Regions from separate parts of the Homo sapiens genome. Here regions 1, 3 and 4 are each linked to region 2. Evidence: promoter capture Hi-C in 16 types of primary human blood cells and fetal thymus (Javierre and others, 2016). All regions are on one chromosome and are shown on one strand. Each heading gives the region's core, a stretch centred on a gene start or on the middle of the fragment in contact. The rest is flanking DNA. Distances are from core to core; before and after follow the strand shown.

Region 1 (6,026 bases), core at 2,914-5,413, 390 kb before region 2:
CTTTCTCAAAACTGCATCAATGACCCCAAATAATATTTAGCAAGGTGAGAGCAAACCCATTAAGTGCTTAAGCAAAACACGAGGCCAGGTGTGGTGGCTCACGCCTGTAATCCCAACACTTTGGGAAGCCGAGGCGAGCAGATCACTTGAGGCCAGGAGTTTGAGACCAGCCTGGCCAACATGGCAAAATGCCATCTCTACTAAAAATACAAAAATTATCTGGGCATGGTGGCGGGTGCCTGTAACCCCAGCTACTCAGGGGGCTGAGGCAGGAGAATTGCTTGAACCTGGGAGGCGGAGGTTGCAGTGAGCTGAGATCGTGCCATTGCACTCCAGCCTGGGTGACAGAGCAAGACTCCGTCTCAAAAAAAAAAAAAAAAAAAGTGAGACCACCAGCCACGTTCCTGTTCCCGCCTTCCTCACTCCTGAGACAGGTGTGACCATGAGGCTTCCTGTGCATATCGTGGGTTTGTAAATGAACCCCACTGGGCTGTACCAAGTGCCCTTCAAGAGGTCCACTTCTCCTACCACCTTCACAGCCGCTCCATCAACTGGCTGCTTGTGACATTTGAAATCTTACACACAGAATCCAGTTTTCTCCAGGCAGGACCTGGCACAGCTTTGTTCCCAGAGAGTCCATTCTCACAAAAGGAGAGACGGGAACTGGGAGGTTCCCTCAAGGAAGCAGCTGTGTGTTGGGGCCGATGGAGAGGTCGACTGGTCCCCTGGGAAGGTCGGCATAACACTGGTGCCCTGCAACCTCTTGGCGAGCTCTCCCTGTGCCAGGCCCCGGGCAGCATGGCAGAGGGTGGTCTTGGGCTGGAACATACCATTGTGCAAAATAGCTCTGGGAACTGTCAGGGGCCATACAAAGCTCACTATTTTTCAACTCAAAAACACTGCTTTAGCTTTTTAATACGTCACTGAGGTACACTGAAGCATACCCAAGACTCTCAAAAACAGCCTAATACAGTTTGAGTGCTTCAAAAAATACCAGCCAATTTGCACACAGATCACACTCAGGAAAGTGAACACATGGCGGCTGCTCGCCAAATTCAACTCCACAGAGTTGACTCTGTGACTCCACAGAGCAGAACCTGCAGGGAAGCAGGCCAACCTCCAACCACCGAACTTGGGCCAAAACTCACAGCAGGAGAGGCAATGCCGTCCCATCCCAAGCATGTGGGCGCACACCCAGGAGAAGAACGAGCGGGCCACGACACTGTTCTCGCCAGCTATGCCTGTGGGCAGCAAGCAGCACACCTCCAGGGGCCACGTAGACAACCTGTGACACAGTGAACCCCACTCCACGCCAAACCACCCAATGGGAAACAGTGGTGAGCACAGCCATGGACCACAGAGAGTAACGCAAGTGGGCAAAACACATGAGAAGCCACCAAGCAGACCCGGATGAGAGCAATACTGTGTGTGCCCAGCACCAACACCAAATTAAGAGGAATCAAAAACCCTGCTGAGCGAGAGAACGTGGGAAAGGGCCTGGGATGGGCCCACTGTTGGCGAGGAGGGGCCCACGCCTCAACAATGAGGCGGACCCTCCAACGTGCCTCACACTTCAAGGCAGCTCTTCCAGGCCAGCCGGGGCCTTGGAGTGAGGGGCCACTGGCAGAAGGGAGCAAGACACTGGTCCACGGCACAGCCAGCTCAGAGCCAGGCGGATGAGACGGGGGCCAAGCCAGGGGCCGGCTACTCACGAGTGCACACGAGGACAGCCAGGATTCACTAGGACAGGATCTGCCCAATCCCAGGCACTTCCCACTGGTCCATCTGACACACCTGGGGGCCCAAGAGGTGATGGCATCACATAAAAGCAAAAGAAACTTGAAACCACCAATCCAGGCAAATTCGGACTCTCCCACAAATGGTCCATCCTTGGGGAGCATCTCCCCCACATCCTCAACCTCCAGCTACGTGTCTGCGGGTGGGCAGGAAGGAGGGGAGGCAGCATGGGCACCAGTGACCAGGACAGCCCTTTCCAAAAGAAGGCCCTGAACACAGTCAAGAGGAAGAGGAAGAAACACTGGGGCCTGGCGGGCAGGTCCTGGGGCCTCATGAGGGTGGTTTGGGGTCAGAAGACACACGATCAGGAACCAGGCGTCACCCCCAGAGGCTGCTGGAGTGCGTCCCACAGAGGCATGAGCAGCACCTGGCATGGGGACAAGGAGCTTACAGCAAGTGGGAGGTGCTCTGGTGCTCTACGCTAAGCTGCCTGGTGCCCCACAGCTCCACGGGGCAGGAGCACCCGGGAGGCTCCTACCACCACAGCCAGATAGCCCATTGAGGACGCACACCCCCAGTCCAGCACCCAGAGGTGAATGAAGGATTCCAGGACAGCAAGGGAGACACATGACCACCCTAGGGTGGACCATGGAACAGCTGTGGGTACACAAAGGCTCCCTGGAGCCATCATCCGTGGAGAGCACCAACTACGTCTTCTGAGTTGTGGGCAGGCCAGGAGGGGAGGGAGGTGTCCCAGGTGAGGGCCAGGCCTGTGGTGACTGTGCCTCGCAGTGGGCAGGGCTGCCAGAACCCAGCAGTGAGCTCACCTTAGTCAATTCTGCCAGCGGGCACCCCCACCACCAGGGAAATCCTGCAACCAGCCGCATCAGGAGCAGACGTTTATAACTAAAAGATCAAATATCCCCAACCACAAAAGTCCCAGTAATCCACACATGGGACTTCCCAAAATCCCATCTCTGAGAGATGACAACTGAAGAAGCCGAGGAGGAAGAGACGGTGTTTAAATGAGAGAGAGGGCCCAATGACAACGGACACCAGACACCTGCCACTTGTCATGTTGCAGATGCCAGGAGGAGGAGTGGGAACACGGGGTGGCAGCATGGGTTAGTGTTCTGCAAAGAAACCCAATGACCTTCCTGTTTTTGCTTCTGAGACAACTTAGGGAAGGAGTTTTGGGCCATCAATGCGGAATCCAAAAGCCCCTGTCTTGGGAAACCACGGGGCCACCTGGCCGGGTGTGCCAATGCCCAGCAGAGCTTCGGTTATTAACAGGGCAGGCCAGCGCTCCAGGCAGGCAGCTCGGCACTTCCAGTGGCTGCACACCCACCACACACAGGCACAGGGCTGGGAGGCACTGCTCGGCTCCCTGGGCCCTGCCAGAGTGGCTCCCTATCACTTGCTTATTTTATAAAGTGGCACTTTACAGCTGGTTTAATGTGGTAAAACAGGAACCTGGCTTAAAAAGAAAAGGGAACTCGCACTGTGCCAGGCTGGCACCCAGCGCAGGGACATCCCTGTAAGCATCCGTGGTCTGGAGAGTGTCCAGTGGCACCGCCCGCCCAGCAGTCAGGGCCGCGGGTATCTTTATGGCATCTGGGAGGGAGCACCCCCACCCTGGGGTGATAAGTGGGATGAAAAGAAGGTGACAGAGTTTTTCTGTCTTATTTCTGGAAAAGGCAACTGGCAAAGCTGGAGAACAGCAAGGGAGTGAAGCAGACCCATAGGAGCGAGGGAGCCCCAGCAAGTGGGGGGCACGTCTGGCCAGGCTCTGAGGAACTGAGCTGCCCGTACTGGGAATCCCAGGCAGGATGTGGGCTCTTGGAGGTGATGGAACAGACAGAACAGGCTATTGCAGGACACACGTTCCTCCTCACCCGGCCCCACCACATGTTCATCTAGTAACAGTTCACCAAGTGAGCTGATGTGGCCCCAGACACCCAGAGCTCAGGGTACGTGCAGAGCCACGGCTGCTGAGCACTCAGGGGCTGTGAGGAGATGTCTGAGCAGTGGTGGGAAGGGACGGGACCTGTTACTCTGGCCACCTGGAGCCAGCGGGAGTGGAGAATGGGCTGTTCCCAAGCACCCGCCTAGGGCTCAGAAACACCACCCTTCCTTGGGTCCTGCCGAGCTTCCCTCCTCAGGGAGCCTTCCCTGCTGCAGGCTGGATGAGGGCCCACGGGACTGTCACTCATCACTCCCGTTCAGAATGCACCTGGCTAACTGGAGTCACACGTGGGGGCCTGGCTGCTGCCTGGCCAAGGTTAAGGACACACACTCTGGCCAGACGCTAGGTCTGACCCCACTCCTATCCATGTGGACAACCCGCTCACTCACATCCCCCCGCCTGATCCAAGGGGCTCACTGAAGCACTGACTCCTCGGCATCCAGGGAGGCCTCGCCTGGTGGCTGCAGCGTGCAGAGGATCTGCGGGCTGTCACGGCGGATGCAGGGGTCAACTGTGCTGGCACCTCTGCTAAGCATGCATCACTTCATTTTGGCCTCCTCAGCCACTTGTGCCAACAGGCCAGGGACGGCACAGAGAGGCTGGAGGGGTGAGGCTGAGGAGGAGGGGAGGTGGGCAAAGGGCATCTGTCAGCCATCTACCTAAGGGTGTGCTCACTGACGCACAGAGGCCACTCCTGCTCTGTTTTTCCAAAGCAATCTGTGACTCTCGGGATTACCCACATCTCAAGTCACATCCTGATTGAAATCCATGACGCGTGGCTTGCTTTGCTAAATTTCCCCTACATTTTCTACAGAGCTCAGCATTCTTCAACTCCCATCTGAAATTGCCATGTACATCTCATCCCTGTCACGTTCATCTCTGCCTGGGAGGAAGGGGAAGTGGCTACAGACTCCAGAACCTGCAGCCTGGGTCCGGTCATCAGAGCAGTGATGCTCTCTGTCATTGGTCAGCAGAGGTTAGGCCCACCTGTCAGGCCTCAGAAGAGCCTGGCACCGCCCACAGGGTGGATCAACGGGTTAATAAGTCACAGCAGAAAACCTGAGGCTCGACTTTAAATAAACAGAACTCTCCCAGCTGCATCCCTGCCAAGGCCCGAGAGTGACACTGGCACATGAGCTATATCTCCCCCCACCAACACACCCCATGGGCTGTCATGAGAAACACTGCATATACCAGAACCCATTTACTCTGGGACACTCTCCACGGAGCCCTGCCACCACCTGTCCAGTGGACAGGGCCTGAGGGACACAAAGCCCCCACAGCCCTGAGCACCCGAGGAGCCACCTGGCCTGGGGATGTGTGATGCCTGCGCACAGGAGGCTCTCAGCCCACAGCTCCAGCAGAGGAAAAAACTCTTGCCTTGTGGAGACAACCCAGGCTTTGACTATTCTGGGCTGCCAGGGCTGTGGGAGCAGCAGGTCAAGGTTCAGGACATCTCACCCTCCTGCCATCATGGCCAAACCTCAGGCGACTGAGAACGATGGGCAACTTCTGTGTGCCAGAGGGCAGTGACATACCAGGACATCAGGGGAACACAAGCCACTGTCCCGTAGCCCCCACTCCTCTCCCATCCTCTCCTCCCCTCCCCTCTCCTCTGTGGTGTGCTTTCTTCTGCATCTGCCACAGCTCACCCAACAGCAAATGCAATCCCAACTAGTTAGGCTCTTGTTAGGACTGAAGATAGCTTTTGCTATTCTTCTCTACTCAATTCTTCATCCTAAGGATGCTGTGGCCAGTCACACCCTCCCACGGGCAAGGGCACCCGGCAATAAGCCCCAGCTACTGCCATTACTCATCCCACTTCCCAGGCAGGCAGGAAGGCAGGTGTGCAGAGCACTGGGCAGGGCCATAGTACCTGTGCCACACACACACATGCTCTTCACCTCATCCAGAGTTTCCTAGGTTTTGGTGCTTCAACAGCCCTCAGTAACGCAGGCTCCTTACTATGAGATAGCCTGGGAGAGAGCTGGGGTTTCTGTGATGGGAAAGGGCTAAGCCGGGAAAGGAAACAGTGTGTGACTGGCGCCTTGCAAGCCACCTAAGGCACCAGGCACACACAGGGGAGGGGAGAAGAGGACGGGAGAGGAGTGGGGGCCACGGGATGCGGCTTGTGTTCCCCTGATGTCCTGGGACACAGCTCCCTGAACCCCAAAACACCCCACGGACAGGAAAGCAAAGTAAGGAGAGGTGAATGTGAGTTGCAGGAGGGGCTGCAGGCACTGACCTGACCTCCCACCCACAGGATGACCCCACACAGCAGAGGGAGAAACTGAGGCCCAGAGGGTGGCACCACTGTACAGTC
Region 2 (6,342 bases), core at 3,194-5,693:
CTACAGACGTGCCCCACCATACCAGGCTAATTTTTTGTAGAGATGGAGGTCTTACCATGTTGCCCCAGCTGCTCTTGAACTCCTGTGCTCAAGTAATCCTCCCACCTCCGCCTCCCAAAGTGTTAGGATTACAGGTGTGAGCCAGTGAGCCACCACGCCCAGCCCACTTCTCATTCTCATCTTTTTTTTTTTTTTTGGAAATGAAGTCTTGCTCTGTCACCCAGGCTGGAGTGCAGTGGCACCATCTCGGCTCACTGCAACCTCCGCCTCCCGGGTTCAAGTGATTCTCCTGACTCAGCCTCCCAAGTAGCTGAGATTACAGGCACGCGCCACCATGCCTGGCTAATTTATTTTTGTATTTTTAGTACAGACAGGGTTTCACCATGTTGGCCGTGCTAGTCTTGAACTCCTGACCTCAAGTGATCCACCTGCCTCAGCCTCCCAAAGTGCTGGGATAACAGGCGTGAGCCATCGCACCAGGCTTCATCATGTTTATCTCCTCACCAAGATGGTGCAAGCCGAGGGGACCCTCCCACCTCCATAGGGCAGCCAGAGGAAGCATTTTGTCATCCACAAAACCCAATCCTCTCCATGCTGTGCTTAAAAACATCACATTCAGGCTAGGTGCAGTGGCTCACACCTGTAATCCCAGCACTTTGGGAGGCTGAGGCGGGCAGATCATGAGATCAGGAGATTGAGACCATCCTGGCTAACACGGTGAAACCCCGTCTCTACTAAAAATACAAAAAATTAGCCGGGCGTGGTGGCGGGCGCCTGTGGTCCCAGCTACTCAGGAGGCTGAGGCAGGAGAATGGCGTGAACCCAGGAGGCGGAGCTCACAGTGAGCCGAGATCGCGCCACTGCACTCTAGCCTGGGCGACAGAGCGAGACTCCATCTCAAAAAAAGAAAAACAACCACATCCAGAACAGAACTCAAGCTGCTGCCTCAGCTCTCTGCAGCCACCCTCCTCCTGTCCCCATGAAACGTGAGTGCCTCCGGGCCTTTGCACGTGCTGTTACCGACACCTGGAATGCCTGCCTGGACCCACACAGGGGTCCTTCCAGGATGTCTTCCCTGAGCTCCAACACGGCCAGATACCCCCTTTCCTGTCCCCAGGGATCACCTTTGTCTTGGGGCTGGCTTAACTTCTGAGACACCCATAGGAGCTCTGATTCTGATAAGCATCCCCTTACACTGTTCTTTTTTTCTTTTCTTTTTTAATACAGAGTCTCGCTCTGTTGCCCAGGCTGGAGTGCAGTGGCGCGAACTCGGCTCACTGCAACCTCTGCCTCCCAGGTTCAAGCGATTCTCCTGCCTCAGCCTCCCGAGTAGCTGGGATTACAGGCGCCCACCACACCCGGCTAATTTTTTGTATTTTTAGTAGAGACGGGGTTTCACCATGTTAGCCAGGATGGTCTCGATCTCCTAACCTCGTGATCCACTCACCTTGGCCTCCCAAAGTGCTGGGATTACAGGCGTGAGCCACTGCGCCTGGCCCTCTTTTTCTTTTTTGATACAAGACAGGGTCTCACTCTGTCGTCCAGGCTGGAGTGCAGTGGCGTGCTCATAGCTCCCCTTGGCCTCCAACTCCTGGGCTCCAGTGATCCTCCTGCTTCTGCCTCATGAGTAGCTGGGACCACAAGCCTGGCGTCTTTGTGTTTTAAGCAGAGCCCTCCCGGCCATCCCCTCAGGGCCCCTACCGTAGAAGACAGATGGTGGGTCATGGAAGAAGGGGTAGTCGGTGCCAAACAGCAGGTAGGCACTGTAGCTCCAGCTGCCCAGGTAGAAGAGAAACTTCCAAGCGCTCTCGGGCATCTTGGCGGCATCTCTGGGCTGGAGGCAGCACCGCTTCGCCAGGGGCTATGGGGGAGAAGACAGGCGGGCAGCCATTGGTGCTGGGGGCCAGAGACTGCTCCTTTGGGGTGGGGAAACTGAGGCCCAGGGACTCCCCAGGCCGGGCAGCACTGGGAAGGCCTGTCCCCCATGCCCACAGCCACCTGGAGCATAAACAGAGCCCACAGGCGCCTGCCAAGGCTAAACTTAGTGCCCAGCTGTCCGGCCGCCGCGGTGCTGGGAGGGGAGTGAGGGGGGAGGCCCCGAGGGGAGCAGGAGGGCTCTGGGGGCCAGAAGGGGGACACTTGGGCTTACGATGAGGGAGACGGATGGATGCGTCAGCCCAAGGGAGTTGGGCTGGTGGGGGTGACCCTTGAAGGGAACATGGAGGGGGTTATATGGGGGCATCTTGGGAAACACAGAGAGCCCCATGGGACCGACACAGAGGGGAGAGGAAGAACTTGTGAGGAAGCCGCCCCCTCAGTGGGAGATTCTGGAGAGGCTAGAGGGCTGGGAGAGACTAGGGGGAAGGTGTGGCGGGGACATGGGAACCTGGGGGCGATGAAAGGGGAGGAGGGGCTGGAGGCAGAAAAAGGGGACAGGAGGCGGAAAAGGTGTCACAGGCGAGGTGAGACCCTGAGGGGACATTGGGAGTGCAGAGGAAGCTGCTGGCTCCAAGGCAGGGGTTGGGGAGTGCGGTGGGTGGGTGGGTGGCGGGGCGCGGCTCCAGAGCTGCCCGGCCAAGCCCCACCCCTGGACAAGTCCCACCCCCTTCCCAGAGGCTGAGGGGGCCGGAGCCCAGAGCACCCAGCAGTTGTCATGGAGACAGCTGGAGCCGGCTCCGGTAACCCCTGGCAACCAGGCTGCTGCCAAGAAGATCAGCTTTGGAACACCCGGCAGCCCCTCCACCCATTTCTGAGGAAGGGCGAGCCTCGAAATGGGGCGAGCACCCCACCCAAGGGGCTGGGGAGGGCCCCCGGGGCTCGGCCCTGGTAGTCTACCAGCCGCCACATCCTCCTGTCCCGCAGGGGTGGGGGACGGCTTGCCCTCCTGGGTCTCGGGCTTCCCAGCTGGAAACTGGGAAGAAGGCAGGGGCAACAAGCAGGATAAAGACCACTGCGGACCCAGGGAGGGGCCCTGGACAGCCCTGTCTCCCCCTCCCACAGTAGGGGTGTGGCTGGGGTCTCTCCCTCATGTGGGTGATATGGGGACGGGAGTGGGGAGAGTGGCAGTCAGACAACATCCCATCATCGACCTCACAAGGGCCAGCCTCTTCCCGGCCAGCAGAGAAAGGCCCCTTTGTTGGCGCTGGGCACATTGTCCCTGCACCCTCCAGCCAGACGGGCGGGGTGACACCAGCTGGTCCACGGGGGTGTCCAGGCCAAGCTAAAGGCCCAAACACCTTCCAACCAGCTCCTGCCACAGCGACCCCTCCCCAGGGAAGTGAGTGGGGTCAGGCGCCAATGTCACCATCATGGTCACTCTCTCGCAGGGGCGATGGTCTCCGCAGAAACTGGGGAATTCTGCTGTCGCCTCTTGGAGGCAGCACAGTCCAACCCTGAAGCCCCGGGCCATGTCACCTCCAAGGGAGCGACCACTGGCGTGGCCAGAGCACCCAGGCCCTTGCCATCCCTGGTCGGAGGGTGGCGCTGACCCCAGATAGGCACAAGGCAGCGACCGGGCAGCTCCTGCCTCTTCCCGATTACAGCGGGCAAGCCGGCCCCGCCGCCGCACGGACCCAGCAGAAAACGGGCAGCGGACCTCGCTCCGGGCCGGGGCGCAGCCCGCATGGCAGGGAGGCGCATGGCGCAGGCCGCGGTGCGCCGAGCCCTCCCGTTCCCGGTCCTGGGCTTCTCAGTGTCTGGCTCGGCCCTGCCGGAAAGAGCGCGCGGTGGCCGGAGCCATCCACCGCGCGGGGCCCCCTGGTCCCAAACTGACCGGAAAGGGCCGTGCCTCGGTCCCCCACGTCTCAAACATCCCACCTGTCTCGGGCCCCCCATGTCCCAGACTCACCCCAGCCCGGCCACACCCCCGCATCTACCCGGTTCCCCCACGCAGCACTGTCTGAAGGGGGCGCGCGGCGGCCCGAGAGACCTTATCCTGGGGCTCCAACGTCCTGGGCCTCTCCAGCCCGAGGCCCCCACCCACGTTCCGGCGACCCCTTCATCCGCAGCAGCCAGCGCTGGAAGAAAGGAACGCGCCGGCGGCCCCAGGTCCCCGGTCCCGGCTTCCCCCAGTCCGGGGTCCCCTCGTCCCGGCCCCCGGCCACACTGACCCGAAAGAGGCGCGCAGTGGCCGCGGAGCGCAGGGCGGTCCAGCCCAGCGCGCCGAGCGCCAGCAGCAGCAGCTCGGGCGGCGCCAGGTGCGCGTGCTCAGCCAGGCCGCGACGCGCCAGCCCCCAGCCGCAGTCCGTGCAGCCCCGCGCCGCCGCCAGCGCGCTGCCCCAGCCGCGCTGCACTAGCTGCGCGTAGCTCGGCATGGGCTCGGGCCCCGTCGGCCCCGCCGCGGGCCCCGCCGCCGCCATACCGCCCGCTCGCCCGCCGTGCCCGTCGCCTGCGCCCGCCCGCGGTAGCCGACGGAGCCGCGCGCCCCGCGTCACGCGCCGCAGCTGGGCCGGGGGCGCGCGGGCGGGAGAGCGGAGGGCGGAGGGGCGGGACCGGCGCAAGCTCCGCCCCGCTGGGGGCGCGGCTGGGGGGCGGCCAGCGGGGACGCGGGGCGCCCTGGAGGCGGGCCCGCGCCCCTGCCCGTTTCCCAGCAGAGAAACCCAGGCGCGGGGGCCGGAGCTGGGGGCCCGTTGGACCTGGACCCCGAGAGACCCCGCGCACCGCCGTGTCGCGCCCCCATGCCTGCCCCGCGCGCCCCCCGCTCCCCCACCCCACCGCGCCGTGCCCGTGACGGGGGGCACGGGGGACACTAGCAGGCAGTCCCCTCGACTGGCGACCCCCGCTTCTCCCGGCCCTCCAGCACGCCACGCCGCTCCCGCTCCATCGCCCCGGCCCGCTCCGACCTCACCGTTCTTGGAGCCCTCGCTCCTTCTCAAGGACCCGAGGCCTGGCACGCCTTGGCACAGTCTTGGGACCATCCCGTGGCCCTCCCGCATTCAGGAGGCGTAGGCTCAATGAAACATTCTCATTCTTCAAAAGGACACGGCCCACGCCAGGGCGTTGGGAGGCGCACCTAGTGGAGACGCAGCTCTCTGCCCTACACCAGGAGCTTGGCAATGGGGTTCCAGCTTGGACGCGGGTACCCTGGGCACTTCCCAGGCATCTTCTTCTGCAGGTCTGCACAGCGGGCTACTGGGACAAAGGTGTGATGGGGGCTGCTGAGATTAGGGGGTTCTCTGAGGGTCACTTGCTGCTGTGACCCTGGGGAACCCGGGGGGGGGGCTCCCCAACATCAGGTTAATACATGAGTTGCAGAGAGGCTGCAGGAGTGGGTGCCAACGTGGGAGGGACTCCCAATCTGGATCGACTGTGACATCATTGGGACCACCATAAGTGACTTTCCAATGCACTGTTCATTGACAAGGCCCTGTGCCCAAAGCCACTGAAGGCCATCGAGGAAGACACTGGTCACCTCTGTTAGGACCGCCATCTCCCCAGGCACTGCTGCACCCCCCCTCCATCCTAGCCCGCAGGATGTCCCCACACCTGGCCTTCAAGGTGCAGGATGCAGGGATGAGTCCTGCAGCAGCCGCGCTGGCTCCCGAACACCTGCACCTGAACTTCAGGGGCACAGGTGAACACACCTTCCCCTTGCCCCACACCGAGTCCCCCACAACACATCCAGGTGGCCCTGCATCTGGCCACTTCTCTGCATCTGCACAGCCTTGCCCCCCGCTCCCCGCCACCACCACCACTACCACCACTACCCTCTTCCGTCTGGTATCCTGGCTTCCTCCTCACCCCACAGAGGTGAGAAGGTGGCTGCGACGCTGTTGGCCTGTTCCTCGTCTGCTTGCAGCCCTCTATGGCTCCTGTTCCACTCAGGGAAAGCCCAAGTCCTCACTGGCTGCCCTCACAGCGCCCTGTTTCCCTCCGCCTGTGGGCTTTTCTGCTGTTCTTCCAACATGCCAAGCTCTGTCCTGCCTCAGGGCCTTTGCACTAGCTGTTCCCCCCTCCTGAAATGCTGTTCCCCTAGGTACCTGCATGGCTCTTCTGCCACCTGCTCAGGCTGCCCCCGACTCTGAAGTCACACGCCCCTCATGTCTTCATGTCTGCTTGGCACTTGTCACCATCTGCCCCTACATACATACAGCTCATTTTTTTTTTTGAGTTGGAGTCTTGCTCCGTTGCCCAGACTGGAGTGCAGTGGCGCAATCTCAGCTGACCGCAACCTCCGCCTCCCAGGTTCAAGGGATTCTCCTGCCTCAGTCTCCCGAGTAGCTGGGATTACAGGCGCCTGCTATCACACCCAGCTAATCTTTGTATTTTCTGTAGAGACAGGGTTTTGCCATATTGGCCGGGCTGGTCTCGAACTCCTGACCTCAAGTGATCTGCCTGTCTTGG
Region 3 (6,958 bases), core at 3,005-5,504, 410 kb before region 2:
GACAGAGGAAAGGGTGAGGAGGAACCTCTCCAGGGCCAGAATCCCCTGATCCTCTCCCCTCCGGCAAAGAGCACTTCCGGGGATGAAGCAACAGGAAGTGGCTTACGAAATCCACCTCCAGGCCGAGTGACCAGTTTACAGGAAGTGTGGTGGGTGAATCTTCCCCAGGGCACGAGGCAATGTCTGGAGCCATTTCTGGTCCTCACCACTGAGGGCGGGGACAGTCCCCACCATCTGGCTCGGGGGAGGCCAGGGATGCTGCTCAGCACACTGCAGGCAACACAGAACCTCCTGCCCCAAATGTCAAGCAGTGCAGGGGCTGAGAAGCCCTGGGCTGACCCTGCCACGGGAAGCGACCATCAGAGCAGAAAGCAGAAAAATCTATGGGAAAAAAGACCTGCTCCCTTCAACAAATATAAAATATAAATGGAAAAGTTACGGGTGAAGAAGAACGTATCTGATTGTTGGCCAGGCATGGTACCTCACACCTGTAATCCCAGCATTTTGGGAGGCTGAGGCAGGTGGACTGCTTGAGGTCAGGAGTTCAAGACCAGCCTGACCAACATGGTGAAACTCCATCTCTACTAAAAATACAAAAATTAGCCAGGCATGGTGGCATACGCCTATAATCCTAGCTACTCGGGAGCCTGAGGCAGGAGAACTGCTTGAACCCGGTAGGCGGAGGTTGCAGTGAGCTGAGATCAAGCCACTGCACTCCAGCCTGCACGACAGAGTGAGACTCCATCTCAAAAAAAAAAAAAAAAAAAAATCTAGGATTGTTTTAAAAACTCTCCAGCAAAGACAGAAACTAGGGAGAGGGCACAGTGAAGAGATGAGACACACAGACAGATGGACGGGGCCCAATCTGGCCAGGTCCCAGGATACCTGCTACCAGCCTGGGGACAATGAGGCCCAAGGCAGCAGGTGCCAAGGCTGCCCCAAAGACACATGATCCTTCCCACCACCCTCCAGAAGCACCCACTCAGCAGAAGTGCCCACTCTCCCCAGGCAGCACGTTCTCCCTGCTGTCTACTGGGCAAGGCCTGCCACCCCACCCCTGATGCAGGAAATGACAGAAAGGAATGCATCTGTTCCTTCTTCAGAAGTCCATCTTGCTGACTCTCCCAAGCACCAGTGTCAGCACACACGTCCTGATCTTACAGAGCTGGGTCACCCTGCCAAGCCACGGCGTGTGGTCCAGCAGAGGGAAGGTGAAGTCCCGGGAAGAGCCCTGGACGGTGGCCTCCCCACAACAGGCCCCCCCTTTCCAGTAAAGCACAAATGATTGGGAAACGCTATTCAGGAATCCTCCTTGAGACTTCCTGGCAGGACTGGAGCAGGACATTGAGGCCACGGAGAGTTTAGACAGTGACTGAGTGGGGCTGTCTCCGTGAACTACAAAACAAAGGAAGATCTGCCCAGTGAGCTTGGTTGGCTCAGGGACGAGCTAGGGAACTTGGACAGACACATTGTGGACCTCACTGGTTCCAGCCTAGGGAACCAGGTGGCCACGGTCAGGGCAGAGCAGAGGGCAGGACCCACGGCAGCTCCTCTGCCAGCCTGGGAGGACAGATGGTGTGTTCAGCAGGCCAGGTGGGCCTGTAAGAGCAGGAAAGGGACTCCAACTGGCTACAAGCCAAGTGTAATTCAGTGGCCGGCATAGCAAGTATTTTTTTTCTTTCTTTCTTTTTGGAGATAAGCTCTCACTCTGTCACCCAGGCTGGAGTGCGGTGGTGTGAACACGGCTCACTGCAGCTTCGACCTTCTAGGCTCAGGTGATCCTCCTGCCTCAGCTCCCGAGTAGCTGGGACCACAGGCACACACCAACACACCTGGCTAATTTTTCTATTTTCTGTAGAGATAGGGTTTTGCCATGTTGCCCAGGCTGGACTTGAACTCCTAGGTTCAAGCAACTCGACAGACTCAGCCTCCCAAAGTGCCAGGATTACAGGTGTGAGCCACCGCACCCAGCCCGCAGCAGATATTTCTATCTGCATTCACGAAGGTGCATAGAAAGCTTATGGAAAAGGGTTTTTCAGAAATCTTGTAGACAAAAATATGCAGATTGCCCAAAACTGTGGCCTCTACACGCTCCACGCACCTTGCTTGCTTTTCCCAGGACAGCACGCTGAGCAGGCCACCTTCCTTTCTGCCCAATTTCCTGCATCCCCACTTGGAGACTGACCCTCCCCGCACCCTCAGCAATCCTGGATCTGTTTTTTTGTCCCTATGGTTTTGCCTTTCCAGAAAGTCTTATCAATGGAATCACATAAGATGAGTTTCCCGTGGTCCTTGCAACAACTGAGCATAAACTTGTGGCTTAAAACAATGGAAACTGGTTCTCTCACGGACTGGGGGCCAGAAGTCTGAAATCCAAGTGTTAGCAGGCTCCCTCCTTTTGGGGGCTCTAGGGGAGGACCTTTCCTGGCCTCTTCACCTGCTGCAGGCTCAGGCACTCCCTGGCTTGTGGCTGCATCACCCTAATCTCTGCCCACTGGGGTCATGCAGCCTTCAAGTCCTCTTCTGTCTACATTAAATCTGTCCCTCTCTTACGAGGACACTTGTGATGACAAACAGGGACCACCCAGATAATGCAGGGTAACCTCCCCATCTCAAGATCCTTAACCTAATCTCATCTGCAAAGTCCCTTTTTCCACAGAAGGTTACACTCACAGGTTCCTGGAATCTGCTGTGGCCATGATTCAGCCAACCACCTACTCAGCATGACGCCTTTGAGATCCATCCTGTGTGTTGCCCCGCAGTATAAATACGCCACCTTCCCGTGCATCCATTTGCTGGATGAAGGACACAGGTTGTTTCCAGTCTGGAGAATTAATGAATCAAGCAGCTATAAATACTCATGGACAGGTTTTTCTGTGGACGTGTTTTCATTTCACTTGGTGAACACCCAGGAGCCCGACTGCTGGGTTACAGAGTAGGTGTACATTTAATTTAATATGAAACTGCCAGGCTGGCTCCCAAAGTTGCTGTACCATTTTGTACTGCCGCCGGCAGCGAATGAGAGTTCCTGTTGCTCCCCATCCACGTCAACATTTAGTGCTGTCAGCTTATTTAAAATGTCAGCCATTCTGGTAGGTGTGTGGTGCAGTGACAGCTCGTGGAGGTTCATGTTTGGGTTTCCCTGCTGATTAAGCATGTTGAGCATCTTTTTACAGGCTAATGTGCCATTCTTCTAGCTTCAGTGGTGAAGCTGTACAAATCTTTATCCCATTTTTAAAAATTGGGTCATTTTCTTACTAAGTTTTGAGGTTTTTTTTTTTATATACAAGAGCTTTATCAGATAAATTTTACATTTTACTCCTAGTCCATGGCTTGTCTTTTCATTCCTTTTTTTTTTTTTTTTTTTTTTTTTTTTAAACAGGGTCTCGCCCTGTCACCTAGGCTGAAGTGCAGTGGTGTGATCTCAGCTCACTGCAACCTCCGCCTCCTGGGTTGAAGCAATTCTCCTGCCTCTGCCTCTGCCTCTGCCTCTGCCTCCCAAGTAGCTGGGACTACAGGTGCGTACTACCACACCCAGCTTATTTTTTTGTATTTTTAGTCGAGACGGGTTTTCACCATGTTGGCCAGGCTGATCTCAAACTCCTGACCTCAAGTGATTTCGGCCTCCCAAAATGCTGGGATTACAGGCGTGAGCCACTGCGCCTGGACTGCCTTTCCATTCTCTTAACAGTATCTCTCAAAATACAGAAGTTCTTAATTTTGATGGAGTGGAATTTTTCAATTTTTTTCTTTTATGGGTGGGTCTTGATTTTGTGTCTTAGTTCCTCCCATCTTTTTGGTTTTTGTTGTTGTTGTTGTTGTTGTTGTTGTTGTTGCTGCTGTTGTTTTGAGACAGGGCCTCACTCTGTTGCCCAGGCAGTGGGCAGTGGCACTATCACAGCTCACTGCAGCCACAGTCTCCTGGGCTCAAGAATCCTCCCACCTTATCCCCAAGCAGCTGTGCCACCATGCCCAGCTACGTTGTTTTTTTAACTCTTTTGTAGAGGTGGGGGTCTCCCTGTGTTGCCCAGGCTGGTCTCAAACTCCTGGGCTCAAGCGATCCTCTCACCTCAACTTCTCAAAGTGCTGGGATTATAAGCGTGAGCCATCACACTCCCATCTTTTTTTTAAATAGCTCTATTTTAGGAAAATCCTCCAAACTGCCATTCTTTACCAACTCCCCTCTCCCCTCCCAAACTAGCAGCTCTGGGTAACTCCTGCCTACACCCGTGGCTGCCACAGCCCCCAGTGAAGGGTCTCTCAGATTCCTTTGTCTGCATGCACCCTGGGTCATGACCACAGATGCTCCCTGGATATTCCCCGGATGCCACCGCCCACCTGGCAGTTGCAGTGCAGGGTTTTTGGACACTATCCAGGTCCTTCTTCCAGAAGGCGCTCAGCAGGTGAGCAGAAAGTGGCCTGTGTCTCATGGGAAGCCCCTCAGATGTCTGTCCATTCCTGCGTCATAGCTGGGGGTGGGGGAGCTGCTTGGACTCCCTGTCCGTAGAAATCACAGCCAAATCACACGCAAGGACTCGTGGTACCACAGACGGCCAGCCTCCATCACTAACCCACTCTCATCCTAAACTGCATGGGATCGGGTTCCGGTTGTTACAACTGAGGAAAATGAGGTACTGAGAGAGGACAGGGCTGCCCGAGGTCACAGCAGACCTCATCCCAACCTCACAGGAAAACTGAGCCCTGGGGTCCCCATGAAGATTTCACAACTTATCCAACCTCACATGATCCCAGGGTAGCAGGATATGACAAACATTTACTACACAATTCTTCAAGTTACAGTGCTTCTATGTCCCTGAGCCCTGCTTCATCAGACAGACAGAAGTCTCCCTCCAAGGGAGGGACAAGCACCCTGCCTGCCCTGCCCACCCTGCCTGCACCTCCATGGGTCAATCTCCAGGCATGGCCCAGGCCTGCTTCCAGGACAGTGCATCTCAGAGCCATGCAACCCATGCCTGGCACAAGCCCTCCTGCCAACACCTTAACTTTGCCTTTCCCCCTTATTATTCCACCTTTTGCATCTGCCTTTCTTCAAACAGGGAAAGACGCTGTCGTATGTGGGCACCTGCTGCACAAGTACACTCCATGGGCACCTGGGCCACAGTGTCAGGCCCCTCTGTCCCCTCTAGCGCACTCTGCAGTGTCTGAAACAGAGCAAATCTGCAAGTGCCAGTGTGATGGGCACAGAATCCCGTTTGGCAGCCAGACGCTGTGGTGGCTCACGCCTGTAATCCCAGCACTTTGGGAAGCCGAGGTGGGTGGATCACTTGAAGTCAAGAGTTCGAGACCAGCCTGGCCAACGTGGTGAAACCCCCATCTCTACTAAAAACACAAACTTTGGCCAGGCGTGGTGGCAGGTGCCTGAAATTCCAGCTACCCGGGAGGCTGAGGCAAGAAAATCGCTTGAACCTGGGAGGGGGAGGTTGCAGTGAGCCAAGATCATACCACTGCACTCCAGCCTGGGCAACAGAGTGAGACTCAGTCTCAAGAAAGAAAAATAAAAAATTTAAAAATTAGCCAGGTGTGGTAATGCGCACCTGCAGTCCCAGCTACTCAGGTGCTGAGGCAGAAGGATCACCTAAGCACAGGCGATCGAGGCTGCAGTGAGCCATGGTTCCACCACTGCACTCCGGCAGGGGTGACAGAGAGAGATACTGTCTTTAGAACAAAACAAAACAAAACATAACAAAACCGGCAAGGAAGCACATGAGGCTTCACAACCAATGCTCTTTTGCCTCCACCTGTGCTCCTCAAGAGGAGTGCAAGAGTTTGGTGGGGTTTTGTTTTTCTTTTTAATCATTCACTAAAACTCACCAACAACAGGTACTGGACCTAGGAATTTTGAACGGAAGGCCTTCGAGAAACTGCCCTCTCACCAAACCTGCCTTCTGCCCATGGTCTGCGGTGCCAGATAACAACTGCTTTCCCCCAGACAACAGTGACCATGATCTGATCACATCTGACAATGGAAGAAGCTAAGGGACTGACCTAGGTCACTGGGGTCCTCCAGGGCACAGCATGGGCCTCTCCTAGCCCTGGGTTCCTGACGTTTCTGAGGTGAATGAGAACGCTCTAGGGCCTGACATGGGCCATCCCCTCATCAGAGCCCAGGCCAGGCCTCTGTGGGGGTTGGGTCCCTGAGAATGCAGCTCTGCCTTGCCACTGTGCTTCCTGCTCAGGCAGCTAGGAGGTCCCAAACCCCATTCACCTCCATGGGACTATTTGGAGCCCAGCAGAAGCGGCCCATGGGCTCTCCTCTCCCCAGGAGGCCCCTCCAGGCCTCCATCTCAACTCCCCTGCAGACAAGGCCATGTGTGTGCCTTCGACCTGTCAGTCTGTAGGGCCACCTCACTTTTGGGCCTTCCAAGCTCAACTGCTATTAGAGCGCCTCCTCTCTGCCACACTCCCAAGGCCACCCGTCCTCAGCCTCACCACAGAGCAGACTGGCCCCTTCTGCCGAGCCCCAGTGCACCCAAGCTTTCCAGCTGCCTCCACCTCTCCCCTGAAAACAGCTAACACTCCACTATGGGAGCCCATCTCCTCCCAGGGCCAGGGAGACCAGGGAGACCAGGGAGACCAGGTCTGGCCCCCAACTCTAAGGCTCATCTTAGAGGCGAGATTCAGGCCCAGCCCAGGGTGCCCCATGAGGCCTGGTGGTTGGAGGCAGAGGGTATCCCTTGCCCAAATTCGTGCCACATTCACAGTCACTGGGAAAGCTACGGGGATGGGCCGGGCGCGGTGGCTCACACCTGTAATCCCAGCACTTTGAGAGCCAAGACGAGCGGATCACGAGGTCAGGAGATTGAGACCATCCTGGTTAACACGGTGAAACCCCATCTCTACTAAAAATACAAAAAATTAGCCGGGCGTGGTAGCACACGCCTATAGTCCCAGCTATTTGGGAGGCTGAGGCAGGAGAATTGCTTGAACCCAGGAGGCA
Region 4 (6,170 bases), core at 627-3,126, 370 kb before region 2:
CCTGGTTCCTAAAGCACAGAAGACAGTGGTGACCAGGTACCAAGTCCATCGTAGTTATATGACTCACGAGCTCTCCCCCAGCTGTTTCTAGGAAAGCCTGCCTTCCTGCAGGACAAGTCAGAATCGCTCAGGGAAAAAGACCCAGGGCCAGAATTCTACCAGGAAGAGAGGCTCTGGCTGGTCATGGGCCAGCAGCTGCTGTCGCTGCCACTGTCTCCTCCTCACCTGCAGGGGCGCCTTAGCCTCATCTTGGGGAGTCTTTTTGACAAGGTGCGAACTTGCTCTTTCAAAAAAAAATGAAATCCTCATTCCATGAAGGGGAAAACTGCGACACCGGGACAGGGAGGAAATTGCCCAAAGACATGGGAAGAAGCACGGAAGGGGTGGGCACCGGGAGAGTGGTGGAAACGAAACAGGGGGAAGAAATTCTCGGCTTAGCTAATGGAGCTGAACAAGTTCGGGGCAGGAAGAAAGCCACATTCCTTCCTAGTTAGTCTCCCTCCTCCCCCGCCCGCGGCACCCCCCCACCCCCACCATCAACAGTATACACAAACACACACACACGCAGGGAGCAGGGCTCTCTGAGCCCGAGACTAGACCCACCCCCACTCCCTTTAGGGCAATGAAGCCCCCAATTTCCAGAAAAGGAGTTACAAGGTTCCTAAACCACTTCCCCTCGGGACCTGACCACTGGTCATCTGCAACTTCTGACCCAGCACAGACGGGGGGAGGGGGGGCCATGACACAAACAGAAATGAAAAAGGCAGGTTTCTGACCACGGCCCCAGATGCGCCCCAAAGTCAGGCCCAAGAGAACATACACAGCAGCCTCCCCTCCCCACCACCAGCCAGGTGGCAGAACCGAAACGCCTCAAACTTCCCCCAGATGGGCCCAAATCGGCCTCTGAGAAGTTCCAGAGTCAGCGGCCAGATGTGGTAGCCAGAGCTTCCTCCTGGGTGGCAGGGATCCCCTACATGTGCCCTGAGGATAACATCACAGCCGCCCCCAACACTTCCACTCTCCAAGGAACCTCTCTCCGGAGAGAGAGGGTCACCTGGGGGTAAGGGGAGCAGAAAGCTGGGACAAGCTGTCAGTTTCTGCCCAAACTCCCCGTCCCAAGAACCAAAGTGGCCCAACCTGAGTGGCTTCATCGGAACGCGTCAAAGCCAGCCCCCAGCTGCAAAGCCTTCCACCCAGACAGAACAGACCCCCACAAGTGCCTCGCTGACCACCCCCTGCCGGGCACCCAGACGATCGCTGCTTCCCAGGAGGACAGACACAGTCACCCCCACCAACGGCGCTGCCCCGGCCCCAGATGGAAAAGCCCCCAGCTTCCCCCTATCACGGTGCCGGGACCGTGCGGCCCACCGCCTCCTCGCCCCGCCGCCAGGTGCGCAAACTGGACCCTGCCCAGGTGCCCAGCAGGCCAGAAAGGCCCCGGACGCCGCCAGGTGCCGACACCGACGCCCCCCGGGCCCGGCGCGCGAGTCTGGGCCCCTCAGCAGCCCCGGGCCACCCGCCTGTATTGCCTCCTAGTGCTGAGAAGGAACGCGGTTCTCAGCGCTCCAGGCCGGACTGGCGCCCACTCCGCGCCCCGCCGGCCCAGGGACCCGCGAGCAGCACCACAGACCTAGCGTCTCCGAGCCCGGACGCCTCAGTGAGGGGAGCGCGAGGCCGGCCCGCGTCCGGACGTTCCCCACTGGCGCGCCGGGCGCCATGCCACTCACCTGTCTGGCGCGGTAGCTCTCGAAGGCCCTCAGGGCACTGTCGGTGAGCTTCACGTGGAACACCGACACCTTGCTGCCGTCGCTAACCCGCCCGCACGACAGCCCGTAGCTCCTATCCTCCTTCAGCGCCGCCATCTTGCGACCATCTCTCCCCCGCGCCCCCTTCCCGGCTCCAGCGCCGCCACGCCGGCCACGCCCCGCCCCGCCGCCCGCTGACGCGCTGCATTATTCATGAGACGCGGCTGGCCACGCCCCCCGAGTCCGACCAAACCAACAGTCGCCGCCACACCGGCAGGCAGCGCACTACATTATTCAGGAGACGCGCCTGGCCACGCCCCATGAGGGCCCCACAAGGCCCACAGTCAACGCCCCAAGTTGTTGCATATTCATAAGGCACTTATGGCCCCGCCTCTTCAGGCCCTAGGGGTGGCCACTTCCGTGAACGAACTCCGCCTCAACACGCGCACCCCTCCAGGCCCCGCCTCCATAGTATTATACATAACCCTGACTCAGCCAGCCAGGCGCGTCAAAGCCCCGCCCCTACAGCCGCTGACGTGATGCATTATTTATGAGATCTCTACAGTCTTCCGTCTTTGGCTTCTGTGGAAAGCCGCAGAGAGGGCGTGGAGGGGCGGAGCCGGCTCGAAACACGTGGGTGGGTAGGCCCCGCCGCGGGCCGGGAGGGTGGGCGTGGCTATGTAAACGGAGCGCGCGCGTTGGACGCTGGGTTGGACACATAAGGCATCCCTTAGGCGGGGTGGATGGGACTTCCACCCAGGGAAGGTGCTGGACCGGTAGGTGGAAGAGGAGCTGGTAAACTTTTTCTTATGAGATGAGTACTTTTAATAGGATAAAATCCTACATCCCCACAGTCCCTGAGCGATGGTGCAGTCCAGCTTCATTTTCCTATTTTAATTTTTTTTTGAGGGGTCTTGCTGTGTTGCCCAGGCTGGAGTGCAATGGCGCCATCATGGCTCACTGCACCCTCGACCTCCTGAACTCAAACTGATCCTCCTTGTCTGGGTCTGCTGAAATGCTAGGATTACAGGAGTGAGCCACCAAGCCCAGACTTCCATTTTCTTTTCTTTTCTTTTTTTTTTTTTTTGAGACGGAGTCTTGCTCATCAGCCCAGACTGGAGAACAGTGGCGCTATCTCGGCTCAATGCAACCATCGTCTCCTGAATTCAAGCGATTCTCCTGTCTCAGCCTCTCGAGTAGCTGGGATTACAGGCGCCCGCCATCATGCCCAGCTAATTTTTGTATTTTAGTAGAGATGGGGTTTCACCATGTTGACCAGGCTGGTCTTGAACTCCTGACCTCAGGTGATCCGCGCGCCTCGCCCTCCCAAAGTGCTAGGATTACAGGCGTGAGCCACCTCCCCCAGTTTTTGTTTGTTTGTTTGTTTTTAGACAGAGTTTCGATTTCCTTGCCCAGGCTGGAGTGCAGTGGTGTGATCTCGGCTCACTGCAACCACCGCCTCCTGGATTCAAGCAATTCTCCTGCCTCAGCCTCCCGAGTAGTAGCTGGGACTGCAGGCGCCCATCACAACGCCCAGCTAATTTTTTGTATTTTTAGTAGAGACGGGATTTCACCATGTTAGTCAGGCTGGTCTGGAACTCCTGACCTCAAGTGATGCACCCACCTCGGCCTCCCAAAGTGCTGGGATTACAAGCATGAGCCACTGTGCCCGGCCAGCCTTCCATTTTCTAAAAAGCAACTTCATTGAGTCACATTTTACATATAAAATATATTCCCAATGCTGTGTAGCTGTCACCACTATCTAATTTCCGAGATTTTTTTTTCTTTTTCTTTGAGACAGAGTTTCACTCTTGTTGCCCAACCTGGAGTGCAACGGTGCCATCTCAGCTCGTTGCAACCTCCGCCTCCCAGGTTCAAGCGATTCTCCTGCCTCAGCCTCCCGAGTAGCTGGGATTACAGATGCCCACCACCACGCCCAGCTAATTTTTGTATTTTCAGTAGAGACGGGGTTTCACCATATTGATCAGGTCTCTAACTCCCAACCTCAGGTGATCCGCCTGCCTAGGGCTACCAAAGTGCTGGGACTACAGGCGTGAGCCACTGCGCCTGGCCAAGGGAGGAGCTGGCTTGGAGGGCCAACCAGCTCGCTCTGTGATCTTGTGAAAGGCACCTCCTGCTTCTGAGCCTCTGTGGATTCACTTCGGAAACAGGAAACAGCAATAAGAGCAGTACTCAGGACCTAGCAAGGTGTCTCACACCTGAAATCCCAGCATTTTGGGATGCCATGACGGGAGGATCGCTTGCACCCAAGGGCTTGAGACCAGCCTGGGTAACAGGGCTAAGCCCCCTCTCTACAAAAAAATTTAAAAAATTAAAAAAATTAGCCGGGCATGGTGGAGCACCCCTGTGGTCCCAGCTACTCCGGAGGCTGACATGGGAGGCTCTCTCAAGCCCATGGGAGGTTGAGGCTGTAGTGAACTATGTTCGCACCACTATATTCCAGCACTCCAGCCTGAGTGACAGAGTAAGACCCTGTCTCCAAAAAAAAAAAAAAAAAAAAAAAAAAAAAGCCAGGCCCCCAGTGGCTCACGCCTGTAATCCCAGCACTTTTGAAGGCCGAGGGGGCTGGATCATGAGGTCAGGAGTTCGAGACCACCACGACCAACATGGTGAAACCCCGTCTCTGCTAAAAACACTAAAATTAGCCAGGCATGGTGGCACACGCCTGTAATCCCAGCTACTCAGAAGGCTGAGGCAGGAGAATAGCTTGGACCCAGGAAGCAGAGCTTGCAGTGAGCCGAGATCGTGCCACTGCACTCCAGCCTGGGTGACAGAGCAAGACTCGGTCCCAAAAAAAAAAAGTATTTCTCCACGTCTACTTTACATTTGATTCCCCAGTGGATCTCAATGAGACCCCAGGAAAAATAAGGCAGAACTTATCAGACGTTGGCATGCTCTGCAGAAGTTTCTTTTTTTTTTTTTTTTTTGAGACGGAGTCTCACTCTGTCGCCCAGGCTGGAGTGCAGTGGCACAATCTCGGGTTCACTGCAGCCTCCGCCTCCTGGGTCCAAGCGATTCTCCTGCCTCAGCCGCCCGAGTAGCTCGGGTTACAGGCACGTGCCACCACGCCTGGCTAATTTTTTGTATATTTAGTAGACGGGGTTTCACCGTGTTAGCCAGGATGGTCTCGATCTCCTGACCTCATGATCCGATGATCCGCCTGCCTCAGCCTCCCAAAGTGCTGGGATTACAGGCGTGAGCCACCATGCCTGGCCTTTTTTTTTTTTTTTTTTTTTGGAGACAAGTTCTCACTCTGTCACCCAGGCTGGAGTGCAGTGGCATGATCTCGGCTCACTGCAGCCTCCAACTCCTGGGCTCAACCCATCCTCCCACCTCAGCCTCCCAAGTAGCTGAAATTACAGGCATGCTCCACCATACTGGGCCAATCTTTTGTATTTTTTGAAGAGATGAGATTTTTCCATGTTGCCCAGGCTGGTCTCTAACTCCTGGGTTCAAAAGATCCTGTCGCCTAGCCTCCCAAAGTGCTAGGAAGTGCTAGGATTATAGGCCATAAGCCACTGCACCTGGCCGTCTGCAGACATTTTTGTTTCTTTGTTTTGAGACGGAGTTTTGCTCTTGTTGCCCAGGCTGGAGTGCAGTGGCACGATCTCGGCTCACTGCAACCTCTGCCTCCTGGTTCAAGTGATTCTCCTGCCTCAGCCTCCTGAGTAGCTGGGATTACAGGCACACGCCACCACACCCAGCTAATTTTGTATTTTTAGTAGAGACGGGATTTCACCATGTAGGTCTCGAACTCCTGACCTCAAGTGATCCACCCGCCTCGGCCTCCCAAAGTGGTGGGATTACAGGCGTGAGCCACCGTGTCCGGCTTTGTCTGCAGAAATTTTTAAGAACTAGGTTACCCATGGCCAGGCATGGTGGCTCACGCCTGTAATCTCAGCACTTTGGGAGGCCGAGGCGGGTGGATCACTTGAGGTCAGGAGATCGAAACCATCCTGGCTAACACAGTGAAACCCCGTCTCTACTAAAAATACAAAAAAATTAGCCAGGCATTGTGGCAGGCGCCTGTAGGCCCAGCTACTCCGGAGGCTGAGGCAGGAGAATGGCGTGAACCTGGGAGGCGGAGTTTGCAGTGAGCCGAGATCGCGCCACTGCACTCCAGCCTGGGTGACACAGCGAGACTCCATCTCAAAAAAAAAAAAAAAGGAACTAGGTCACCCACAATATTGCAAGTGAGTTGATCACCCTGGGGTGCCCCCCGGACACATAGTCCACCTGGTGAGCTCTCTGATGGAAGCAGTGACCCCACCCTGCCCCTTACCCCGTGTGTGGTCTTGGACACATCTTGCCATCTCTGTTCCTCAGTTTGCTCATCCAGAAAACAGGGAGTGTAACAGCATCTACCTGATTCTTCTGTGACAATGACATGAGACAAGGACATGT

What was found. The method cuts DNA at HindIII sites, captures the fragments that hold promoters and counts their contacts. A CHiCAGO score of 5 or more calls a contact.
Region 1: a contact is called between a fragment that was not itself captured here and the fragment with the promoter of CERS1 in region 2, in 1 of 17 cell types (total CD4 T cells). The highest score is 5.3, in total CD4 T cells.
Region 3: a fragment that was not itself captured here is called in contact with the fragment with the promoter of CERS1 in region 2 in 1 of 17 cell types (erythroblasts); the score reaches 6.3 in erythroblasts.
Region 4: the fragment with the promoter of ELL here is called in contact with the fragment with the promoter of CERS1 in region 2 in 1 of 17 cell types (non-activated CD4 T cells); the score reaches 7.3 in non-activated CD4 T cells.

What each region holds. Positions count from the first base shown.
Region 1 is chr19:18,499,898-18,505,923 of GRCh38, forward strand. The region is part of intron 1 of ELL (elongation factor for RNA polymerase II); the gene reads right to left. Among named protein-coding and RNA genes, the nearest start is that of ELL, 19 kb to the right of the region's middle. RefSeq lists enhancers at 529-1,515, 4,736-4,785. The HindIII fragment of the contact is 9,226 bases long and covers 1-6,026 here.
Region 2 is chr19:18,891,715-18,898,056 of GRCh38, forward strand. CERS1 (ceramide synthase 1) reads right to left here and starts at 4,444. Exons shown (of 8, transcript NM_021267.5): 1 at 4,110-4,444; 2 at 1,702-1,861. The coding sequence starts at 4,358. It overlaps GDF1 (growth differentiation factor 1), which reads right to left and starts at 4,444. Exons shown (of 8, transcript NM_001492.6): 1 at 4,110-4,444; 2 at 1,702-1,861. RefSeq lists a silencer at 3,445-3,494. The HindIII fragment of the contact is 17,655 bases long and covers 1-6,342 here.
Region 3 is chr19:18,478,961-18,485,918 of GRCh38, forward strand. The region is part of intron 1 of ELL (elongation factor for RNA polymerase II); the gene reads right to left. Among named protein-coding and RNA genes, the nearest start is that of ELL, 40 kb to the right of the region's middle. RefSeq lists enhancers at 1-496, 4,658-5,158, 5,159-5,659, 6,507-6,958. The HindIII fragment of the contact is 4,478 bases long and covers 2,016-6,493 here.
Region 4 is chr19:18,520,194-18,526,363 of GRCh38, forward strand. ELL (elongation factor for RNA polymerase II) reads right to left here and starts at 1,877. Exons shown (of 12, transcript NM_006532.4): 1 at 1,728-1,877. The coding sequence starts at 1,862. RefSeq lists silencers at 561-610, 1,341-1,650 and enhancers at 866-1,381, 1,382-1,897, 2,041-2,370. The HindIII fragment of the contact is 8,691 bases long and covers 1-6,170 here.